2 separate regions of the Homo sapiens genome follow, and region 2 is linked to region 1. Evidence: promoter capture Hi-C in human tissues and cell types (Jung and others, 2019). All regions are on one chromosome and are shown on one strand. Each heading gives the region's core, a stretch centred on a gene start or on the middle of the fragment in contact. The rest is flanking DNA. Distances are from core to core; before and after follow the strand shown.

Region 1 (6,966 bases), core at 675-3,174:
CTAAGAAAGTGGAAAGAAGGGGCATGCTTGGCTGATGGATGAAATCTCAAAAACATTATCATCACAATGCCTGTTAAGAAAATCATAATTGCATTGATAAATCTGCTACATAAAAACCTTACTTGTTATTTCCATGTAAAATAGAAATTAGGCATTATAGATTATGCAATCCAGCATGCCTATCTATAATCTTACATTGAATCAAGGGTTGACTCAATGTTTAGTCAGTTTTTCCAACTTATAAGCCATGTCCATTTCTGAAAACCAAAATACAAATCAAGCTCCTGCCTTCTTTTCTTAGTGAAAGAAAACATTCATATTGTTTTAAATTTTTAAAATTTTTTTCAAGAAACTATAAAATATGTTTGATTCAAGTATTTCACAAGACAGAAGGCACTATCCAATAGGCTTAAAAAGTCACTGATTTCAAACCTACGAATACATAAATTATGCATGCATTATGTGAACAATGAAGGGCACATCCAAAGTGAGGTTTTCATGGGAGACTGGAACACTGAGGCAAGAGAAAAGTGAAAACATTCTAAAGCCTTCATGTAAACAAGGACTAACTACTAAAAAGCACGATTTTATCCCTCAGTTAATAAGTCTTGCAAGGGATGACATTACTAAGTAAAGTTCATTGCAAGCTTTTTCCTCTCACTTGTCAAAATATACTAGTTTATATTTGTGACTCGAAAAAAAATACAATGCTTGGAAGAAAGCTTGGCAGAGCACTCAGAATCTGTCTGAAGTATAACGCAAGGGAGATGTCTATTAATCTCTCACACACAAAAGTCTGACTCAAAAGGTCTGTGGCCTTGACCTCAAGTGACCATGGAATAGACCACAGAGCCAGTCCAGGATCCAAAGGGATTAAGAGGAGCATTTGCTCTGCTCTGAAAGGGCCTTTTTTCCCCACTCTAGTTTCTAACTTCCCATTACACACACTCCCTCTGCAAGGCACCGCGCCAATGGAGCCGGTTCACTCTGTTCTCTCCTTGATGACAGCTGTCAGTCTGTCGCCGCCTGAACATGCAACATTTCAACAAAATCCAAAGCGGAACTGGAAGGGCAGGGGCTGAAGCACACAGCCTGATCTCCTTCCTGGAGGTCCCAGACTCCTTAACCATCACTTTTCAACCTGCTTAAGGTTAGAACCACCTCACTCTTCACTAACAGAGTTGAGGCAGCTTCTGTCTCCTCAGAACCTGGGCATTCCCACACAGTGTAATTAAGCAACATTCCTGGAAATCATCCTAAGAAGAAAGAGCCCGCAAGTCCCCGTGTAACTTCAGCACGAACGCGGAGGGTGCTAAACCAGGTATCGGATCAAGGGGCGGGAAAATCCCTCACTCCGCCGGCTCCTGGCCCCTGGACCGCGTGGCGACGCCCGGCGGGAGCGCGGCGAACCCCAGCGCATGGGACCGGGGGTGAGACCGCGCCCTCCTGCAGGGCAGGGGCGACCTGGCGAGTGCCCGCGGCTGGAGAGCAGTGCGAGCCCAGCCAGGCGGTGGGGAGGGTGGGAGGCGGGCGGAGCGCCCTGTTCACCCGTTCGCCCCTTGCCGGGAGCTGCGGAACCGCAGAGGGAGTCGCAGAGGCCGGTCCTGGAGCAGGGACCTGTCCTGGGGCAGGGGCCCTCGGGGCACTCACCAACTGCAGCGCGCAGAGGCAGATGAGCGAGCAGCGTCCGGTGCAGCAGCCCATGGTGCCGGCGGCGTCCGAGCGGCGCTGACTGCCAGAGATCCTCGTCCTCCGCCGCTGCTGCCTCCTGACTCCGGAGTAGTCCCCGCCCGGCCCGGCCCAGGCTCCTCGGCCCCGCGGCCGCCGCTCGCGGCTCCAGGGCTCGGGGCTCGCGCCCGCCTTTGTTAGTTTCCCGGCGGGGCGGGCCGAGGTCAGTGCGGTGCGCACGACCCGAGCGTCTGGCGGGGGTCCCTGCGTCCCACTGTGCAGGTCTGTTTCTTGGGGAGGGGGAGCCAGGCGGGCGGGGCGGGGGGTTGGAAGGAGGCTACAGATGGCGAGTGGGTGAATGTCTGTTTAGGGGAGGGGAGTATGTAGGAGGTGGGCGTCTGGAAAGTGGAGTGGGCTGTCTGGGTCCGGGTGTGTGTGTGTGTGTGTGTGTGTGGTGGGAAGGGAAGAATGAAAGGGAGTGCCGCTGGGGAGGATCGGCCTGTCTAGTTAAGAGTCTTTGGGGAGAAAGGAAGAGGGACAGAGAGAAAAGAGAATGAATATGAATGAGCGTGAATTAGGGCGGCCGGCGGCGATGGAGACCCTCGTTGACCGGTGTAACTGGGTAGACCCAGCTGGGCTTTCTTGCTGAGGGTTGTGCTGGGGGTTGGGAGGGTGGTCGGACGCGTTTGCAAGGGAGGGGACACGGCTTAGTTGAGCTGCCCCAGAGGTGGCGAGGATGGGAGTTGGGTTAGCTTGGGTTCCGGGGAGGAAGGGCCGGGACGCGAGACACCCAGGGTGGGCGGGCGCCGGGGAGCGCAAGGCCCAGCTCCGGAACCTGCCCGGATGCGAGGGGGCCCGCGGGCGCTGCGCGGGCAAGTCTGTTGAGCCGGCGCTGGGCACGCAGCTCGGGGGTCTCCCATCCGAGCTTGCTTCTGCCCGCCACAGCCGGTTGCCTGGAGGGCGCCCCTGCTGGAGTCTGAAAGGGAAAGTTGGACAGAGTTGGGTGGCAAGGGGCGCTGCGGCGGAGCGATGCACCCGCCCAGGGCGCCGGGACTAGCCAGGACGCCGCGGGGAGACCTGGCTTAAGGTTCTTTTCTCACATACCCTTTGAAATCCTCACCGGGAGGGAGAAAAGAGAAGTCGAGGAAGAAGAAGATGCGTAGCTTTTTCTAGAAATGGAGAAGGTTTCCGGAATAGGTATAAATATATCTTCACAGAAATAAATTGAGAAGGATTTGGAAAGAAGATCTCGGATAGTTAAGATACGGACAAACTCTCTCTGAATCCTGTGGAAACTCTCCTGCTCTCTCCCACCTAATAAAACAGAGCGGAGGCGTTCTGCAGAGGATGAAATTTCATCAGGGCTCAAAGACAGATTTTATGGGCGCATTTGTTGTACCTGGTGGAACTGCGCAAGGAGCTCAAAAGCACACCAGAACAGGGAACAAGCCTGCAGGCCAATTATCTCAGAAAAGGCTGTTTTCAGAATTTGGCACAGAAACCCTGTTTCTAGCCCACTGCTGCCCTCCTGGGTTCTTGGCGGTAGGTTGGTAAGAAAAGGCAAGACATCTTTGCGTTTTTAATACTTCCACTCCAGACATGGAAACTGCTCAAGCCGTTAGTTCAGGCGTTAAAAGCAGTCCTGTTTTTATTTTTATCCTTTCTGAAACGTTTCTTCAGGATCTATGTTTATAATTTAAGACGGTTATCATTCCCAAGGAAGTCTGCACATCTTTGAAATTCTAGTAGGGACACATGAATAACCTCAGGATTTGGGTTATTAAAAGGGTCAAGAACATTCATTGTTTACATTCCACCTCTGATATTATCATGGAGACAGGAGAAGTCCAGTCAGAACTCCTCCTCCTTTTTTAATTCAAGCGTTAAGACATCAGTGATCAAGGATCATGTGAGCACGCTGCCTTTATGCACAATCCACGTACTCGTCATCATTCTTTATGGATGAAAACAATAGAAAAAAATGAACACTGACAAATAAGTAGTTTAGCATGTAGAAAAGGACATTGCAGAACATCTCAGGCCATTGACCCCTCTAAAAGCTGTAGGAAGCAGCTGAAAAGTGAGAGGACATGAACAAGTCTTCTATCTATAACTTCCAGAAATTGTTGTAACCTTTTCATCTCCAGAGACTGTGATGAATGATGGTAATAAAAATACTGACACTTCCTTCTCTCCAAATTACATATGTTTACCCCAGTATACTTTGTCATGATTTTATTTATTTAGGAAGTACCATATTAGCAGCTAACTTGCACTGGGTCCTTGCCAGGTGCCATACACCCATCTAAGTACTTTATGTGTGTTCACTCATTTAATCATCACTGCAACCTCATTGGGGTGGGTGCTGTGAGCATCATCACTGAAAAGATAGGGAAACAGGAGGAGAGGCTCCCCTGGCTGCTAAACCAGGAAGAGGAATACAAAGCCAGGGAATTTGACTCTAGAGCTCCTGGATTTACATATTCCCTGTGCTGCCTCTGAAACTTGGGACACAAATAGCAGTTACCCACAGGGAAGCTAACTGTTCCCTCATAAGCAGGTGTAATAATGTACATTGATCTAACATTCAGAGTTAGTACCACCCATGTGGTATGATTTTAGGAGACCAGGAGGGTCCCTTGTACCTCTCCCTTTCCCATTGCTGCCTTTACTGATAGCCTCAAATTGGAGTTTCTTCCTTGTGTAATTTAAGATGTTGAAAAATGCATTTGTACTAAATGCATTTAAATAAGAAACAAAGATAACACAATGCTAATAAGAAGTCTAGAAATTGTGTGAAGCTACCTTCATTTTTCTCTGCAATCTCTTATTCTCATTTTCTAAATTGTATTACATCCAGAACTAAAAATCTTTCTCCCTTCCTTTTTTTCCTTCTTTTCTCCATCCTTCCCTCAAATACTTCTTACAAGTTCACTTCTTAATTGCTTCTATGCAAAGGGCTGTGCTAGTTGCCTACTCTGCAAAGGTAAATGATACCACTCCCTCTCTTCCCCTCAAGGACTTACAGGTGGGAAGGGAGAGCAGATGCAGGCATAAAGTAGCACTCCCTCTGAAAGAGGTTAGTGCCGACTGCTGTCATTAAGTTTTCTTCCTATGAGAGTTAGAGAAGGTTTAAAAGAGGAATTACCAGTCTCTTGGGGAGAGGAAATGAGACTAAAAAATGACAGAGCAATGGAAAGGATGCGGCCTGGACAGGAGTTGGGTAAAACCAACTGGAGAGGAAATAATCTAAGTAGAACAGCCCATCAGCTATATGGCTGTTCATGCTGCTTCTTGGCCATAGAATCTCAGAGAAGCCATTTTGCTCCCCTGTGAGCCCTGTTTTCCCCATACATAAAGTGGGTGTGATAAAAATGACTTGCCCCAGAGGGCTAAGCCTTAGCATTTGCCCCTTGCCTGTCTCTGTGGAGTTTACAGCCTTGGCTTATGCAGGTCTCAGCCTCATGTCACATCCCATGGAGGCCTTTACTTAACAGGCCTTCTAAAATAATACTCCAGTCACTCTATTTTTCTTCAAACTGATTGTTTGCTTACTGTATGATTTCCTGTCTCCCCAACTCAAATACAAAGCTGTTTCCCCAGTGCTTATAACAGTAGTTAAATTCAATATTTGTTGCATGAAGAACAATATGTGTACATTTTTAGCATAATACTTCACACATCATGTTGAACATTATATGTGCACATATATAGTATGTAGTGAGTATTAAATATATGTATACACACACACTCCTTAATGCCATTTGAGTCTGTGTGTTTGTTTTGTTTTGTTTTTGTCTCATGTCTATCTCTTCTATGTTTTTATTTCTTGGTGAAATTCCTTTTGAGAAACTTCAGTCCTATCTCCCTTAAAGGAGGAGTGAGTTGTAGTTGTCCAAACTAACAGATAACTTGGGGGAGACAGCACATCCAGAGGCCAGATCTAGAAGTGCAGATTTCCAGATTCCCAACTTTTGGGGGTTCAGTTTCAAATACTGGATATGGGACACCAGCTTTAAGTTTCTCCTTAAATTAAGATTGTTTTGAGTTAAAATTACTCCTTAATTATTGCACTGTTTTTTGTTTGTTTGTGTGAACCTCCCAGTTCTGCATTTTCATTGAGTTGAATAGTTTATTGCCTGATTAAGCATTCTACCTCCATTGTGAAAAGTTCTTCAATGTATTAGTAAATATATGTGTTTCCTCTGATGCCTGCTTAATTGTGAGCACCTCCTTGGGGCCTTCATGGAGCAAGCAAATTATAATTCTCTACACCTTCTCCTACAACTGGCTTCACTTCATGATTATCTGACAGACATTTCAAAGCAGTATGCCAGCTCAAGTGGAGCGAAGATAAGGTTTACACTGGAGCAAAATGTGGACACACATGTATGGCTAGTTTGAAGCATGCCTGCGAAGGGCTGCAGAACATAAGTGTGCCATTGTGTGGCTGTTGAGACCATCCTTTTTGCTAGAATTGGTTCACTTATTATGCATAGCATTGAATGTATGAATGTTGGGGGCATGCACGAGGGAAAAATGATAAGTTATATTTTTTATATTTTCTTACTTTCTAAAAAGATAGATATTTCTTGATATTTTAAACACTTTACATATAAACATTTAAAAATGCCCCGGAGATGGCTGTTTTTCGGGAGATAAGAAAGAAATTAGAGATGGACATATGGTGTGGGGGTGTTTCTAAGGTCACTGGAAAGCTTGTGGAGTGGGAGAAACCAAAGGAGAAAGGATAAGAAAAGTTCTTTGGTATATTTTGATTGAATAAATGTTACTTATAATTAGTTCTGCAATTGGAAAGATATAGCCAAGCACCTTTTTTCCATTTCTGTTTTGGTTAATAATAAGCCTCAGTTAACATTAACTCCATCAATGGCCTAAAAACACTGATCTGGTTATGATAATTAGTATTGCAATGATACACATTTAGTGTTTTTCTTTTTTTACTTTTTTTTTTTTTTTTTTTTTTTTTTGACAGAGTTTCACTCTTTTCGCCCAGGCTGGAGTGCAATGGTGCGATCTCAGCTCACTCCACCCTCCGCCTCCCAGGTCCAAGCAATTCTCCTGCCTCAGTCTCCTGAGTAGCTGGGATTACAGGCACCCACCACCACTCCCACCTAATTTTTGTATTTTTAGTAGAGACGGGGTTTCACCATGTTGGCCAGGCTGGTCTCGAACTCCTGACCTGCAGTGATCCACCCGCCTTAGCCTCCCAAAGTGCAGGGATTACAGGCATAAGCCACCACGCCTGGCCCATTTAGTGTTTTTTTAATGTCATGC
Region 2 (6,694 bases), core at 1,521-4,020, 44 kb before region 1:
TTGTTCATTGCTATATCCCCAGCACATAGAATTTGCTGGTCTAAAGTAGCTTCTCAATAAACATTCTTGAATACACAAACAAACAAATATAATTAATTAATTAAATGTTGACATTAAATGAACATTAAAAAACACTTATGAGAAATTTTATTTTATGTTTAGCAGATTTTCTACCCGAAGAGGGGAGCTAATAGAATCCAACAAACAGGATTTTCTCTTTTTGTTAGATAAAGTGATCTTATTTTATATGCAAGAATTGGAGAATTCCCCCAAAAAAGCTGTGAAATAGAAACCGCTATACTACATATATATAAATAAGCCTCAAAAATACATTAATATTTATTTCCATTTTTATAGACTACAAAACTGAAGCTCAACAATTGTTATTTTGCTCTAGTTCACACTGCTGCTCAGTGAATCAGGATTCAAACCATGATGTGAGGTCAGAGTAACCCAAACTCCAAGTTGTTGCATGAAATCACGCTGAGTCTGATATCATTAGGATGTTTGCCTGACACACCTATCAGCTTCACTGAGGCATTTTTGCTGGACACTAGAGCTGAAACCTTACAAAAATTAGAGTCAGAAACTAATCTAACACTTATACTGCCACAACCTCCTATGAACCAGAGGTCTACTATAATCTGCTTGTCTCAGACAAGGGCACATTCCCTTATATCCACATGTTGATTTGGTATGCAATGGCTGACACATTGGTAATGAGATGAGGTACACCAAAACAAATCCAAAGAAAGAAACTATTCTATTTAAGGTTGTGCCTCCTTTCAAAGTACTCCTTGATTTGTTATACCCTCCAAAGTCTCAGGGACAGGTGCCACATAGATTTACAGAAGAAAAAATGATCCAAGTATCCATGTAAAAGGTTACCCCAACAACATGACACAAACACTGGAACATGCCCCAGAATATCAAAAGGACCTGAGAGATGTGTGTTTGTATGTTTCTGGAAAGGATAGAAGTGTTGAGTCCTCTCTAGAATTTGAACTATGTAGGTAATTACTTTGACTCAATTTCGACAGGAGGCCAGGTGCAGTGACTCACACTTATATTCCCAGTACTTTGGGAGGCTGAGGTGGGAGAATAGCTAGAGCCCACCAGTTGGAGACCAGCCTGGGAAACATAGGGAGACCCCATCTCTACCAAAAAAATTAAAATACAAAAATTTACCAGCATGGTGACACGTGCTTGTGGTCCCCAGGCTAAGGTGGGAAAATAGCTGAAATTGGGAGGTTGAGTCTGAAAGTGAACCATGATCTTGTCACTGCACACCTATCTGGGTGATAGAGTAAGGCTCTGTCTCAAAAAATAGGAGTATTTAAGAGTAAAAAGAACACATCTGTTAGCAAATCTCTATGGAGCAGGGTGTTCAATGTTTATAATTTTATTTATTATAATCCTTTTTGTGTAGTCAAATAAAAAATACTGAATATGAGGGAAAGATACTCTCCATCAAAGTTTTTCAAATCAATTCATGTCAATACATATTTTCGAGTGCCTACTCTCAGAAAGGAACTAGGCTGAAGATGGCTGAATAGGAACAGCTCCAGTCTGCAGCTCCCAGCGTAAGTGATGCAGAAGACGGGTGATTTCTGCATTTCCAACTGAGGTACTGGGTTCATCTCACTGGGGCTTGTCAGACAGTGGGTGCAGCCCATGGAGAAGGGCAGAGCAACGCTTCACCCAGGAAGCACAAGGGGTCAGAGAATTCCTTCCTACCAAAGAGAAGCCGTGACAGACGGTACCTGGAAAATCAGAACACTCCCACCCTAATACTGCTCTTTTCCAATGGCCTTAGCAAACGGCATGCCAGGAGATTGCATCCCGTGCCTGACTCGAAGGGTCCCACCCTCACAGAGCCTCGCTCACTACTAGCACAGCAGTCTGAGATGGAACTGCAAGGCTGCAGTGAGGCTGGGGGAGGGGTGTCTGCCATTGCTGAGGCTTGAGTAAGTAAACAAAGTAGCCTGGAAGCTCGAACTGGGTGGAGCCCACTGCAGCTCAAGGAGGCCTGCCTGCCTCTGTAGACTCCACCTCTGGGGGCAGGGCATAGCTGAACAAAAGGCAGCAGAAACTTCTGCAGACTTAAACTTCCCTGTCTGACAGCTTTGAAGAGAGTAGTGCTTCTCCAAGCACGGAGTTTGAGATCTGAGAACAGACAGACTGCCTCCTGAAATGGGTCCCTGACCCCCGAGTAGCCTAACTGGGAGACACCTCCCAATACGGGCTGACTGACACCTCATACAGCTGGGTGTCACTCTGAGATGAAGCATCCAGAAGAAGGATCAGACAGCAACATTTGCCATTCTGCAATATTTGCTGTTCTGCAGCCTCCGCTGGTGATACCCAGGCAAACAGGGTCTGGAATGGACCTCCAGCAAACTCCAACAGACCTGCAGCTGACGGTCCTGACTGTTAGAAGGAAAACTAACAAACAGAAAGGGCATCCACTCCAAAACCCCATCTGTATGTCACCATCATCAAAGACCAAAGGTAGATAAAACAGCAAAGACAGAGAGAAACCATAGCAGAAAAGCTGAGAATTCTAAAAATCAGAGCGCCTCTTCTCCTCCAAAGGAACGCAGCTCCTCGCCAGCAACGGAACAAAGCTGGACGGAGAATGACTGATAAGTTGAGAGAAGAAGGCTTCAGACAATTGGTAATAACAAACTTCTCCGAGAAAAAGGAGGATATTCGAACCCATCGAAAAGAAGCTAAAAACCTTGAAAAAAGATTAGACGAATAGCTAACTAGAATAAACAGTGTAGAGAAGTCCTTAAATGACCTGATGGAGCTGAAAACCATGGCATCAGAACTACACGATGCATGCACAAGCTTCAGTAGCCAATTTGATCAAGTGGAAGAAAGGGTATCAATGACCGAAGATCAAATGAATGAAATGAAGTGAGAAGACAAGTTTAAAAAAAAAGAGTAAAAAGAAACAAACAAAGCCTCCAAGAAATATGGGACTATGTGAAAAGACCAAATCTACGTCTGATTGCTGTGCCTGAAAGTGATGGGGAGAATGGAACCAAGTTGGAAAACACTCTTCAGGATATTATCCACAACTTCCCCAACCTAGTGAGGCAGGCCAACATTCAAATTCAGGAAATACAGAGAACACCACAAAGATATTCAAGAAGAGCAACTCCAAGACACATAATTGTCAGATTCACCAAAGTTGAAATGAAGGAAAAAATTGTTAAGAGCAGCCAGAGAGAAAGGTTGAGTTACCCACAAAGGGAAGCCCATCAGACTAACGGTGGATCTCTCAGCAGAAACTCTACAAGCCAGAAGAGATTAGGGGCCAATATTCAACATTCTTAAAGAAAAGAATTTTCAACCCAGAATTTCATATCCAGCCAAACTAAGCTTCATAAGTGAAGGAGAAATAAAATCCTTTACAGACAAACAAAAGCTGAGAGATTTTGTCACCATCAGGCCTGCCTTACAAGAGCTCCTCAAGGAAGCAATAAACATGGAAAGGAACAACTGGTACCAGCCACTGCAAAAACATGCAAAATTGTAAAGACCATCGAGGCTAGGAAGAAACCACATCAACTAACAAGCAAAATAACCAGCTAACATCATAATGACAGGATCAAATTCACACATAACAATATTAAACTTAAATGTAAATGGGCTTAATGCTCCAATTAAAAGACACAGACTGGCAAATTGGATAGAGTCAAGACCCATCAGTGTGCTGCATTCAGGAGACCCATCTCACATGCAGAGATACATGTAGGCTCAAAATAAAGGGATGGAGGAAGATCTACCAAGCAAATGGAAAACAAAAAAAAAGCAGGGGTTGTAATCCTAGTCTCTGATAAAACAGACTTTAAACCAACAAAGATCAAAAGAGACAAAGAAGGCAATTACATAATGGTAAAGGGATCAATTCAACAAGAAGAGATAACTATCCTAAATATATATGCACCCAATACAGGAGCACCCAGATTCATAAAGCAGGTCCTTGGAGACCTACAAAGAGACACAGACTCCCACACAATAATAATGGGAGACTTTCACATCCCACGGTCAACATTAGACAGATCAACGAGACAGAATGTAAAAAAGATATCCAGGAATTGAACTCAGCTCTGCACCATGCAGACCTAATAGACATCTACAGAACTCTCCACCCCAAATCAACAGAATATACATTCTTCTCAGCACCACACTGCACTTATTCCAAAATTGACCACATAGTTCGAAGTAAAGCACTCCTCAGCAAATGTAAAAGAACAGAAATTATAACAAACTGTCTCTCAGACCACAGTGCAATCAACTAGAACTCAGACTTAAGAAATTCACTCAAAACATCTAAACTACATGGAAACTGAACAACCTGCTCCTGCATGACTACTGGGTGCATAACAAAATGAAGCCAGAAATAAAGATGTTCTTTGAAACCAATGAAAACAAAGACACAACATACCAGAAACTCTGGGACACATTCAAAGCAGTCTATAGAGGGAAATTTATAGCACTAAATGCCCACATGAGAAAGCAGGAAAGATGTAAAATTGACACCCTAACATCACAATTGAAAGAACTAGAGAAGCAAGAGCAAACACATTCAAAAGCTAGCAGAAGTCAAGAAATAACTAAGATCAGAGCAGAATTGAAGGAGATAGAGACACAAAAACCCTTCGAAAAATCCATGAATCCAGGAGCTGGTTTTTTGAAAAGATCAACAAAATTGATGGACTGCTAGCAAGACTAATAAAGAAGAAAAGAGAGAAGAATCAAATAGATGCAATAAAAAATGATAAGGGGGATATCACCACTGATCCCACAGAAATACAAACTACCATCACAGAATACTACAAACACCTCTATTCAAATAAACTAGAAAATCTAGAAGAAGTTGATAAATTCCTGGGCACATACACCCTCCGAAGACTAAACCAGGAAGAAGTGGAATCCCTGAATAGACCCATACCAGGTTCTGAAATTGAGGCAATAATGAATAGCCTACCAACCAAAAAAAGTCCAGGACCAGATGGATTCACAGCTGAATTCTACCAGAGGTACAAAGAGGAGCTGGTACCATTCTTTCTGAAATTATTCCAATCAATAGAAAAAGCAGAATCATCCCTAATTCATTTTACGAGGCCAATATCATCCTGATACCAAAGCCTGACAGAGACACACAAAAAAAGAGAATTTTAGACCAATATCCCTGATGAACATTGATGCAAAAATCCTTAATAAAATACTGGCAAACTGAATCCAGCAGCACATCAAAAAGCTTATCCACCATGAGCAAGTTGGTCTCATCCCTGGGATGCAAGGCTGGTTCAACATATGCAAATCAATAAACGTAATCCAGCATATAAACAGAACCAAAGACAAAAACATGATTATCTCAATAGATGCAGAAAAGGCCTTTGACAAAATTCAATAGCCCTTCATGCTAAAAACTACCAATAAATCAGGTATCGCTGGGACGTATCTCAAAATAATAGGAGCTATTTATGACAAACCCACAGCCAATATCATACTGAATGGGCAAAAACTGGAAGCATTCCCTTTGAAAACTGGCACAAGACAGGGATGCCCTCTCTCACCACTCCAATTCAACATAATGTTGGAAGTTCTGGCCAGGGAAATCAGGCAAGAGAAAGAAATAAAGGATATGCAATTAGGAAAAGAGGAAGTCAAATTGTCCCTGCTTGCAGATGACATGATTGTATATTTAGAAAACCCCATCGTCTCAGCCCAAAATCTCCTTAAGCTGATAAGCAACTTCAGCAAAGTCTCAGGATACAAAATCAATGTGCAAAAATCACAAGCATTCCTATACACCAATAACAGACAAACAGAGAGCCAAATCATGAGTGAACTCCCATTCACAATCACTTCAAAGAGAATAAAATACCTAGGAATCCAACTTACAAGGGATGTGAAGGACCTCTTCAAGGGGAACTATAAACCACTGCTCAACGAAATAAAAGAAGACACAAACAAATGGAAGAACATTCCATGCTCAAGGATAGGAAGAATCAATATTGTGAAAATGGCCATACTGCCCAAGGTAATTTATAGATTCAATGCCATCCCCATCAAGCTACCAATGACTTTCTTCATGGAACTGGAAAAAACTACTTTAAAGTTCATATGAAACCAAAAATAGCCCACATTGCCAAGACAATCCTAAGCCAAAAGAACAAAGCTGGAGGCATCACCCTACCTGACTTCAAACTATACTACAAGCCTACAGTAACCAAAACAGCATGGTACCAGTACCAAAACAGAGATATAGACCAATAGAATAGAATAGAGCCCCCAGAAATAATACCACACATCTGCACCCATTTGATCTTTGACAAACCTGACAAAAACAAGAAATGGGTAAAGGATTCCCTATTTAATAAATGGTGCTGGGAAAACTGGCTAGCCATATGTAGAAAGCTGAAACTGGATCCCTTCCTTATATCTTATACAACAATTAATTCAAGATGGATTAAAGACTTAAATGTTAGACCTAAAACCAGAAAAACCCTAGAAGAAAACCTAGGCAATACCATTCAGGACATAGGCATGGGCAAGGACTTCATGACTAAAACACCAAAAGCAAAGGCAACAAAAGCCAAAATTGACAAATGGGATCTACTTAAACTAAAGAGCTTCTGCACAGCAAAAGAAACTACCATCAGAGTGAACAGGC

The links. Contacts are between HindIII fragments. The study calls those that stand out against the background at their distance.
Region 2: a contact is called between a fragment that was not itself captured here and the fragment with the promoter of NKAIN3 in region 1, in 2 of the 25 tissues and cell types used here (stomach and thymus).

Annotation. Positions count from the first base shown.
Region 1 is chr8:62,243,812-62,250,777 of GRCh38, reverse strand. NKAIN3 (sodium/potassium transporting ATPase interacting 3) reads right to left here and starts at 1,924. Exons shown (of 7, transcript NM_001304533.3): 1 at 1,651-1,924. The coding sequence starts at 1,704. It overlaps LOC124901952 (a long non-coding RNA gene), which reads left to right. Exons shown (of 2, transcript XR_007060932.1): 1 at 1-1,321. The HindIII fragment of the contact is 6,824 bases long and covers 310-6,966 here.
Region 2 is chr8:62,289,193-62,295,886 of GRCh38, reverse strand. All of the region lies in intron 1 of NKAIN3 (sodium/potassium transporting ATPase interacting 3), which reads right to left. Among named protein-coding and RNA genes, the nearest start is that of NKAIN3, 44 kb to the right of the region's middle. The HindIII fragment of the contact is 3,126 bases long and covers 1,208-4,333 here.